Regions from separate parts of the Homo sapiens genome. Here all the other regions are linked to region 2. The links are contacts of gene promoters, found by promoter capture Hi-C in blood cells and fetal thymus (Javierre and others, 2016). All regions are on one chromosome and are shown on one strand. Each heading gives the region's core, a stretch centred on a gene start or on the middle of the fragment in contact. The rest is flanking DNA. Distances are from core to core; before and after follow the strand shown. Region 1 has its middle 8.1 kb from the start of RB1CC1. Region 2 holds the start of TMEM68 (transmembrane protein 68). Region 3 overlaps PCMTD1-DT (PCMTD1 divergent transcript).

Evidence for each region. The method cuts DNA at HindIII sites, captures the fragments that hold promoters and counts their contacts. A CHiCAGO score of 5 or more calls a contact.
Region 1: a fragment that was not itself captured here is called in contact with the fragment with the promoter of TMEM68 in region 2 in 2 of 17 cell types (non-activated CD4 T cells and naive CD4 T cells); the score reaches 8.4 in non-activated CD4 T cells.
Region 3: a fragment that was not itself captured here is called in contact with the fragment with the promoter of TMEM68 in region 2 in 2 of 17 cell types (total CD4 T cells and naive CD4 T cells); the score reaches 7.9 in total CD4 T cells.

What each region holds. Positions count from the first base shown.
Region 1 is chr8:52,720,875-52,724,130 of GRCh38, reverse strand. No RefSeq gene overlaps it. Among named protein-coding and RNA genes, the nearest start is that of RB1CC1, 8.1 kb to the right of the region's middle. The HindIII fragment of the contact is 374 bases long and covers 1,153-1,526 here.
Region 2 is chr8:55,771,858-55,774,998 of GRCh38, reverse strand. It overlaps TMEM68 (transmembrane protein 68), which reads left to right and starts at 1,621. Exons shown (of 8, transcript NM_001286657.2): 1 at 1,621-1,730. TGS1 (trimethylguanosine synthase 1) reads right to left here and starts at 1,553. Exons shown (of 13, transcript NM_024831.8): 1 at 1,280-1,553. The coding sequence starts at 1,380. RefSeq lists enhancers at 1,115-1,444, 2,216-2,719 and silencers at 1,585-1,774, 1,865-1,994. The HindIII fragment of the contact is 10,724 bases long and covers 1-3,073 here.
Region 3 is chr8:51,900,686-51,904,169 of GRCh38, reverse strand. The region is part of intron 1 of PCMTD1-DT (PCMTD1 divergent transcript); the gene reads right to left. Among named protein-coding and RNA genes, the nearest start is that of PCMTD1-DT, 3.1 kb to the right of the region's middle. The HindIII fragment of the contact is 2,805 bases long and covers 819-3,484 here.

The sequences.
Region 1 (3,256 bases), core at 90-2,589, 3.1 Mb after region 2:
TGTATTTGACACTCAGAGTAGATAATTTTTTAACATCCCATTCCTCTATAGTTTCAGTAACAATAGAACAACAATAATAGTAATGGTTAGAAAAGAAATTGACAGCAAAATTTTTTAACTGAAACTTTAATCAAGGCAGTCAAAATTTAAAAGTTAAAAAAAAAAAAGCCACACAAATATTACAAAACCAAAAAGAAAAAATCTATACTACTTGATAGTTTTGAGATCTGCCTAGGAGTTTTAACTTTGACCCTTTGTTAAAAAGTCATTTTATGTAAACAATTGTCCAGCAACTAATAAGTGAATTTCAATAACATCTACAAGATATAATTTGTTTCTACTAAATCATATTGATGATAGAGTGTTTTACTTCTTGATTTTTAATTTTAAATGAATAAACAATGAAACCGGATAAATTTCAATTTTAAAGATATTTAAGTTTTGTAAGGTATGTCACACATGAACTAAATTTTGTACTTAGTAAGTGGTTCCACAGAATGACAGAATGAGATGGTAAAATGAGATGGAGTCAAAAACCCACGACTACCTTAAATAGAAGGGACAGAATAGTGACTGTTGGAGAGAATTTGTGGATGCAAATAGGTTTGCAGATTTCAGGGCAGAAGAGGAAGTTCTTTTCTCATGGCTTCTATTTCCTCAGTGTTGTAGGAGGTGAGATTATTTACCAAAGAGAGAACTGGGAAGGGGTGGGAATTAGGGATTCAAGAATAGTGCAGACAATCTGATGGAGAGTAGGAAGAGTGAACTACTAGGGAAACAACACAGAAGGCTGAGGTAGAATTGGAACCCACGTTTCCAGACATTCAGTTCAGTGGTCCTTTTAATACATCATACTGAAAAGGAATGACTATTGGGAAAAGTATTTTGCATGAATGGATAGCAGGTAGGGTTGATTAAAACAAAGGGATCATTTGAGGAAGAAGGCAAAAAAACAAATGGTGTTATTAAAATAAATGGACTTCAGAGAATTGGGAAAAAAGCATTCATTTTATATGATAAACAACAGAACTCGTTTTAAGTTACAAAAGACTAATGGTACATTTTTCAAAAATATGTAGTCTGGAAAATGAAGAAAAATATACACATAGGAAAAATCACTTAGAATTTAATTTTGTACTTACTTAGAAAGCTTTCTTAGACTTCATTAGACACATTTTTATTATATTGCCCATACATAAAAATGAAAATACAAGCAAATTACATTGGTAAAGGTATTTCTAAAATTTCATCACTTTTGAACTATTACTTCCGACTCAGAGATTGTCTGGGTTTTTCCACAGAATTTATCCTTTGCAGCACTGAAAGCACTGGCAACAAGCATTTCCTTACAGAATCCATAAAAGAACTAAAGCTGTGGTGCTAGGTACCTAGCTGTCTTTGGGAATGTTGTACAACACATCTTATTCATCAATTCTCTCACCATTATAGTTTGGATTTTTTTCCAATCTGGTGTTTTTGATGTCTTATAGTAAGCACAGGAAATGGATGGCATTGGTTGACAAGCTTGGAGGACCACTATCCATCCACTGTTAAATGGACCCAGATTTCAGAGATGTTAAAATACGAAACATAGTAAAACAGAGTAGCTTGCTACTTTGTTTTCCTTTGTCTTTAAATATTTTTTGGTTGGGCAGAGTGGTTCACGCCTGTAATCCCAACACTTTGGGAGGCTAAGGTGAAAGGAGAGCCTGAACCCAGGAGTTTGAGACCAGCCTGGGCAACATGGTGAAACCCTGTCTCTACAAAAAATACAAAAATTTGCCAGGCATGGTGGTGGGCATCTGTAGTTACAGCTATTAGGGACAGTGAGGTGGAAGGATTGCTTGAGCCTGGGAGGTTGAGGCTGCAACAAGCCGTGGGTGTGCCAATGCATTACAGCCTGGGTGAGAGAGTGAGACCCTATCTCAAAACAAAAAAAAAATTAATATACATATTTTTACAATTTTTTTAGAATAGGGTCTCACTTTGTTGCCCAGGATGGAGTACAGTGGTGTGGTCATGGTTCACTGTAGCTTTAAACTCCTTGGCTCGAGCAATCCTCCCACCTCAGCCTCCCAAGTAGCTGAGACTAGAGGAGTGCACCACCACACAGAGCTATATTTTTATTTTATTTTTATTTTTATTTTTTTTATTCTCTCTGTCGCCCAGGCTGGAGTGCAGTGGTGCGATCTCGGCTCACTGCAAGCTCCGCCTCCTAGGTTCACGCCATCCTCCTGCCTCAGCCTCCCGAGCACGCCCGGCTAACTTATTTTTGTACTTTTAGTAGAGACAGGGTTTCACCATGTTAGCCAGGATGGTCTCGATCTCCTGACCTCGTGATCCACCCGCCTCGGCCTCCCAAAGTGCTGGGATTACAGGCGTGAGCCACCGCGCCTGGTCTATATTTTTACTTTTATTTTTGTAGAGACAGGGTTTCGCTATGTTGTCCAAGCTGGTCTCAAACTCCTGGCCTCAAGTGATTCTCCTACCTCAGCCTACCAGAGTGCTGAGATTACAGGTGTGAGCCACCATGCCAGGCCTGTTTTAAATATTCTTCTAAAATATAATATTAATGGCTGCATAGTATTTCATTATATAGATGTACCACGTTTTCCCTGAATTCTGAGAAAGGGGTTGATTTTGTCCCTCTGGGAACATTACAAAATGTCCAGAGGCATTTTTGATTGTCATAACTGGGGTGCTACTGGCATCTAGTGGGCAGAAGCCAAGGAGGTTCAACATCCTAAAATGTACAGGACAGCCCCTTATAACAAAGAATTAACTGGTAGGTATGAGATTGAGAAACTCTGTAACCTATTGCTAGACATTTTTTCTTTTTTTGTTTTTGAGACAGGGTCTCACCCTGTTGCCCAGGCTGGAATGCAGCAGTGCAATCTTAGCTCACTGCAACCTCTGCCTCCCAGGCTCAAGCAATCTTCCCACCTCAGCTTCCCAAGTGGCTGGAACTACAGGCGTATGCCACCACATGCCTGGCTAATTTTTTTTTTTTTTTGTATTCTTGGTAGAGATGGGGTTTTGCCACATTGTCCAGGCAGGTCTAGAACTTCTGAACTCAGGGCTATCCACCTGCCTTGGCCTCCCCAAGTGCTGGGATTACTGGTGTAAGCTGGGAGCCACCTTGCTGAGCCAATTTTTTTTAACCCCTGCAGGACCAGCACCAAATTAAGGGGGAGCATAGGCTATGCATAGGATATATAGGATATAGCCCGTACAATTGGATTACCTGGGTTCAAAT
Region 2 (3,141 bases), core at 372-2,871:
GGATTACAGGTGTGCACCACCGTGCCCTCCCTCCCAGCCATTTTGTTCAGTTTCCCAGGCTTTCTTTTGCTCCCTCAAGGCCTTTACTGAGTTCAGCCTGCAGAGAACGCTTTCTCCCACTGAAACTCACCCCAATTTATCCCCCTTAGACCTCTTTCCAAAAGCTACTTCCTCAAAGAAACCTCTGTGACCCTTGGAAAGTTATTTGTTTTCACAGCATCCTGCACTTCTCTCTCATAGCACTTATAACTATAATCAACCAAGTAATAATGTAACCAGTTATCTTAATATTGATCTTCTCTGCTAGGAAGTAAACTCAATACATGTAAGGACAGAATGTCTTGTACCTCAGTGCCTACCAGCATACTTGATATACAAGAGCACAAAAAACATTTTCTGAATGATTGTATGACTACATGCATGCCTGACTAAAAAGGCGACAATACTTTTTACATTAAATTTAACAAGTTTAACTTCTTTTTGCGTTTTCAAATTACTCCACAAAATTACACGAGAAAAATGAATTCCTTCAAACTTAAATCCTACTATATTAAACTATATTAAAAGTCTATCACATAAAATTCACTTCCACAAGGATTTAACTCTAACAAAATAAGCATGTGAGATTAAATATACCCGTTATAGAGATGAAAAAAAGGTTCAAGTGGTTTAACTCACGCATTTAATATAAAGGAAACAATTCCTAGAATTCAAGTCTCTTGGCGGTATTATTCCTGCATACTAGCTATTTTTCATGTGGGGCAATTTTTACCTGATTCAAAGATTTCCCCAAAATAAAGATATCACAAAAACTGATGTAAATATGGTTAAGTCTTTTATCTCAACTAGTTTGAAGTTTTAATTATGTGCATTTGGGCTTAAGTAGATTTTTAGGTTTAAAAAAAGACGTTAACCAAAGCAAGTCACTCAACTTTAAACTTTCACTTTATGACATCATATCTACTAGAGATTTCATTTTACATGTCGCTTTCCCCCAATTTTTAAATGTCCCCTCGATTTACAAATATGAGATGACATATAGCACCTACGACATTTTTTCATAGCAGCCTACCAAGTAGATGTAGTCCTTCACATAAAAATAATGGCAGTGGGCGACCACTCCGTCATGTCTGAGGGTTTTGTTTTTCTTAAACATCACCGTGCCCAAGGGTCAGATGTTCTGGCTGCTTTCAGGGATCAATTACAACCACGTTTGCAATACCTACATTTCTGGGTAATGACTGTGCTAGAACATGAAGAGATTCTCTTTTCTACTTACTCCACAAATGCCCTGGAGCAAAGGCACAGTATCTTACAATCCTCCCGCTCCTCAATGAAGAGAAACATTTCCGCCACGCGGCTCCACTTCTCGCAGCACATTTTACCACTTCGGAGGCAGCTCTGACGTACGCAGCCCGGGTCGCGCCTGCCGGGCCTCCGCTCGGTTACTGGAGACTTAAAACAGGCCTCGCCCGCAAGCCCTGGATGAGGAGATAGAAACTGGCCCGCGGCCGCTCGCGCCGGGAACTAGCCCGGACGCTGCCGCCGGAAGTGGCTCCGAGGGGCCACGGGAAGGGGCGGGACCACGGGCGGTGTCACCCCCATCGCGGCCCGGGCTGCAGCCGCCGCTTGGCTTCTTTCACACGGGTTGCTTCGGAGGAATCCGCCGTGCAAATCTGTCCGCCCCCTTGGCCACTGATCCCCCGAAGAGCTTCTGTCGCCGCTCTAGGGTAAAGGAGAGCTGCCCCTGCCCCTGCCCCCGCCTATCCGAGGTGCGTCGGCCCCCGCGCTTCTCCAGCCCGGCATCGGGTCTGGCGGGACTGGGAGCGGCGGAGGCCGCGCGCGTCCGGTCTCCCAGGAGCCGCCTCGGAATCCCCAGTCTCTTCGCGGGCAGGCTCGGCTTCCCGCCGGCCTCAGTGTTGCGCCCCAGCGCCAGAGTGGCCGGGTGTGGAGATCCTCCCTCCTCTGGGTCAAAGAGCCTGCTCTCCCCGCCCCTCTTCTCCCCTGGCGCTCTAAACCTTCGGTTCGGCGCGTTTCATCCTAATGCATCTGGTGGGGCGAGGCGTCTCTAGCCTCTGTAGAGGCCTCTAGGCTTGCCCAGTGGCTTCGCTGGTTCCGGGACCCAGGTCGAGCCTCCGGTGTAAAAGCCAAGGGGAAGTGTGTGGTGATCCCGAGAGTGTAGGGGGAAAGCCGCGTGGGTAGAGCGTTCGTATCCAGACCGATCAGGCTTGGAATCCTGGTCCTACCTTGTGACCTGGGCAGGCAACTTCACCTTTCTGAGCTTACCTTTGATCACCTGTGAAATGGGGTTGATTAATAGTAACTACTACATGAGGCTGCAGGGAGGACTAAACGAAATGATGTATATTACACCTTTCCTTTGTGCGCTTAATCGTTGGCGTCGGTTTGGACCTTGTAGGCGTTAAGTGCTGTCTCGGTCCCTGGGGTTTGCAGCCTGTAAAACAGGTCTCTGCCTTCAAGTTACTAATTATCTAATAAGAAAAAAGTTCATGTGGGCATAAATAGGATGGAGAAAATGGAAACAGCAGCGTTGCTGGATCTGTTAAAAAGCAGTTAGTATTTGGTGTGTGGTATTCATGGAGGCTGCACGGGCAACTTCTTCAGAGACAAGCTCAGACTTGAAAGTTGGAGCGCTTCGGACGTGGTTGGTGCTACGAAATGCCAAAATAGTATTGGTACTTCTTCAGAACTATATAAAAACTGAGCTAAAATTCATGCATTTTGAATGGTATTTTCAATAGTATTTTGGCCACATTTACTAGTTAGTGGAAATATTCATTTTCAAATGTTTATTCCCACCTCCTTACTGCTGCCCTACTTTGAGGTCGGAGATAGGCTGATTTTGTTGGTTCAAGAAGGTAAGAGTGCTGCACGGTTACAGATATACCAGTATAGATGTGCAGCATTATTGGGATGAGTAGCTGGGTTACGATAATAAGGGTAGAACAGTAATTATGAAACAGAGTGGAAGATTTTAGCTAGAAGTTGGGCATTCTAGGATTAAAGAAAAGTCTTGAAGGGTAATTTGTATCAGAACCTCGAGTTTAAAGCTTGAAATAAAAAAAGTATTAAAGCTAAAAGGATTAGATTTACCAGCTATCTTGACAAATACTAAATTGC
Region 3 (3,484 bases), core at 972-3,471, 3.9 Mb after region 2:
AACACAGAATTGAAATAACATTTTGAGGTATTTTTGCTGAAAAAAGAGTTCATTATCGAGGTTAGCTTTTGTTTTAGGATTTTTCATTTCAAAGTCTCTGTTCTGCCCTAATAATGAATTTGTTGTCACAGCTCCTATTTTTACTATTATTTTTAGCAAACTATTCTATTTAGTGGAATTAAAAAAAAAAAGATCAGTTGGTTCTAGTCAACTCTTCATAATTGCTCTGTTCATCAACCTAGAGCCAAGAAGAATCCATACATATGAATTATCATTTCAGTGCCTGGACTTACTACTGTGGTTCAGTATCTGACCAAGAAAGACAGGTTTACTGACCAAAGCCTTTTTCATCTTCATTTCAGAATTCAAATGTCATACTTAAAAACACACATACATACATATAATGTGCACACACACACACACATAAACACAGTAACTTCATTTACACTATGAATCACTAAAGCAGACTCTGAAATGGTTTCACCTAACTACAGTAATAGTTATATACAGCATAATTTTTAGTTCTAATACAAGGTACTTGCGTCAGCTACATTTACATAAAAGTGAACACTTAAGTTTTGGCTCCTTGCTGGCTGTTGCATCCAATCTAATGACCACCAAAATCTGGCTGCAGTCTATCTTTCTAGGCTTAGCTCCCATTATCCTTTTTGCATTCTATGTTCTAGCTAAATCAGATTAATCTCTGCTCTTTGAAAACAAATGATCTATGTAAGCGTTATTCTTTTATATTCCATGTTCCTAAAATAGCTATTCTCTTTATCTCCATAATTCAAAAATTCTATTCAAATTTCAAAGCTTGATTCAAATTTGACTTCTGCCATGGAACACTACTATGGAGCAAGAGTATTTTATTTGTACCCTTACTATTATGTCAAGGGTCACTTTCCTCCTTCTATTATTTGAATGTAAGTTTATTAAGACAGAAGCTATATCATATATTATTGCAATATCCTCAGCATCTATCATAGTGTCAGAAAATGTTTATTGAACTTTAATAGATTCTTTAAAAAATATTAAATTTTACATATACATTAAAAAGATGTTTATCCACAGTTTTGATGCACTTAAGTTTACAAGCAGAAGTTTTCCTTTTTCTCCACTCCATGATTCTGTTTTTTAAGAAGCAGAATTTTTAATAAAGGAAAGATATTTATATAGATTAAGCACCATATAAGAGTAATTTTAACTTGTGAGTTAAAGTCACTTTTTGTTTACTGTAGACAATAAATTATAAATGCTTATTTTTCTAAAAGAAATTCATTTTTTGATAACTTATATTTCCTTTTATTGGAAGATTATCCTAGCATTAAAATCTATGTAATTGAGGGATTATATGTGCAATTTAAAATAAAATTATGCTTTCCCAAAGTCATTTAATCCTATTAATTGTCAAGTGAATATTTCAGAAATTACTGACCTTTTTAATACTGAAAATGAAATCTGCCTGTGCAGACTACATCCAATTAGAAACTAACTCCTGGGCTCAAGTAATCCTCCCATCTCAGCTTCTGGAATAGCTGGGACTACAGGCATGCATCACCACACTCAGGTAATTTTTAAATTTTTTGCAGAGATGAGGTCTCACTATGTTGCTCAGGCTGATCTTGAAATCTTGCAACTTCTGAGCTCAAATGATTCTCCCACCTCTGCTTCCTATAGGGCTGGGACTATAGTCGTGAGCCACTGTGCCTGGCCAATGACAATTCTCTTTAAGAGAGAAAATACTTCTGTTTTTGCTTTTTTTTTTTTTGCAGGGGGAGGGGGATGGTGAGGTAGGGGAGGTGATGAATTTAACTGTACTGAAAATGGTACAAGGAAATCAAACTGCAGAAAAAAACAGTTCCACATTTAGTTACATTTTAGTTTTGGGTTTTCCCCAGACATTGCAGGCCAAATTAGAGTTAAGATGAGGAAATCCTTTCAGTCCTCACAGACCAGACTTGGCTTTATAAAACATAATCAAGTCCCACTATACAACCTAGGTGTTAGGAAGCAACTAGAGTTTTCAAGGTAGATCTGGGCAACACGCAGACACCTCCATTTCTGAGGCTGAAGGAAACATGCACCAGTGCTAACTGCCACGCATATGAAAAATGTGAACTCCTAGCACGGTGACAGTAGCTGTATGCTGAATACCATTTAATTTAATAAGCATTTGTTTGTTGAATACCTTATGCATTCAAATAACAGAGCACTTCTGATACAACAATGCTTCAGCCTACACAGTATTCTGAAAGGAGTCCCAAATAGCTCAATTTTACTTTGGGTATTTTCTGCTTAATAATAAAAGTGAAGCAACCTCGTATGAAGAATTAAGTTATTACAGTAAGTGTTATTGCTGTTGCCAGGACCAAACTTACTGTAACAATGTATCAAGAACTCTAGGAATAAACTGTGTGTGGGTTATCTAAATTTATCAAAGTCTAAATAAATCTCTAAATGATTCTAGATGATAATTTAAAATTTAAATTACTCATTCAACAAATGCAGAGTATCAGTGTTGTAGCAGCCACTGTATCAGGCCCTGCAGAGAAATAGTGAGCATACTGGGTATGTGCCCAACTTTCATGATTACAAATTAGTAGGAAGTCACACACAAGAAGTGAATTATAGCCAGACGTGGTGGCTCATGCCTGTAATCCCAACACTTTGGGAGGCCGAGGCGGGTGGATCACTTGAGATCGGAGTTTGAGGCCAGCCTAGCCAACAGGGGAAACCCCATCTCTACTAAAAATACAAAAATTAGCAGGGGGTGGTGGTGCGCTCCTGTGATCCTAGCTACTTGGGAGGCTGAGGCAGAACTGCTTGAAGCCGGGAGGTGGAGGTTGCAGTGAGCAGAGGTTGCCACTGCACTCCAGCCTGGGCAAAAGAGCAAAAGACTCTGTCGCCCCCACCCACAAATGAATTATATGTGTAAGGTATGGAGGCATAATCAGAAATTACGTGAAGGTAGAGATGGGGTGTGCCTACCACAGGAAAATTACAGGTGATAGAGTGCTTTACTTGCTGTTCAACTACTCACCCACAAGACTAGCATTTGGTGTTGTTTATTAAGAAGGTATTTACTAGCAGTCTTATTTAAAAAATGACCTGTGTTTAACTTTCCAGCCGCAGAAGAGAAAAAAGGTCTAGAACCCTGAAAAATTCCCATAGCAGAAGGAAGAAAGTAAAGGAAAATATGCTTTTAAAAAATGGAGAGAAAACAGGGGAAACGGCTGTAAGAGTTGTTTAATGATTTTAGCTATTTTCCTTAGATTACCATTTGTACTTTTTTTGTTTGTTTATGGTAAGATAGTTTTCATGTGCCAAAATTTCTGCTTGGACTAACAGAAAATTCATCCTGTAAGATTGTTATATGATCCCACAACGGTTAGGAGTGCCCTGGGTCCAGGCAGAAATCCAAAGATGGAGCTAATAATGTGACCCGCAGCTCTACTCCAGAATGCAGATGAATAGAGATTTT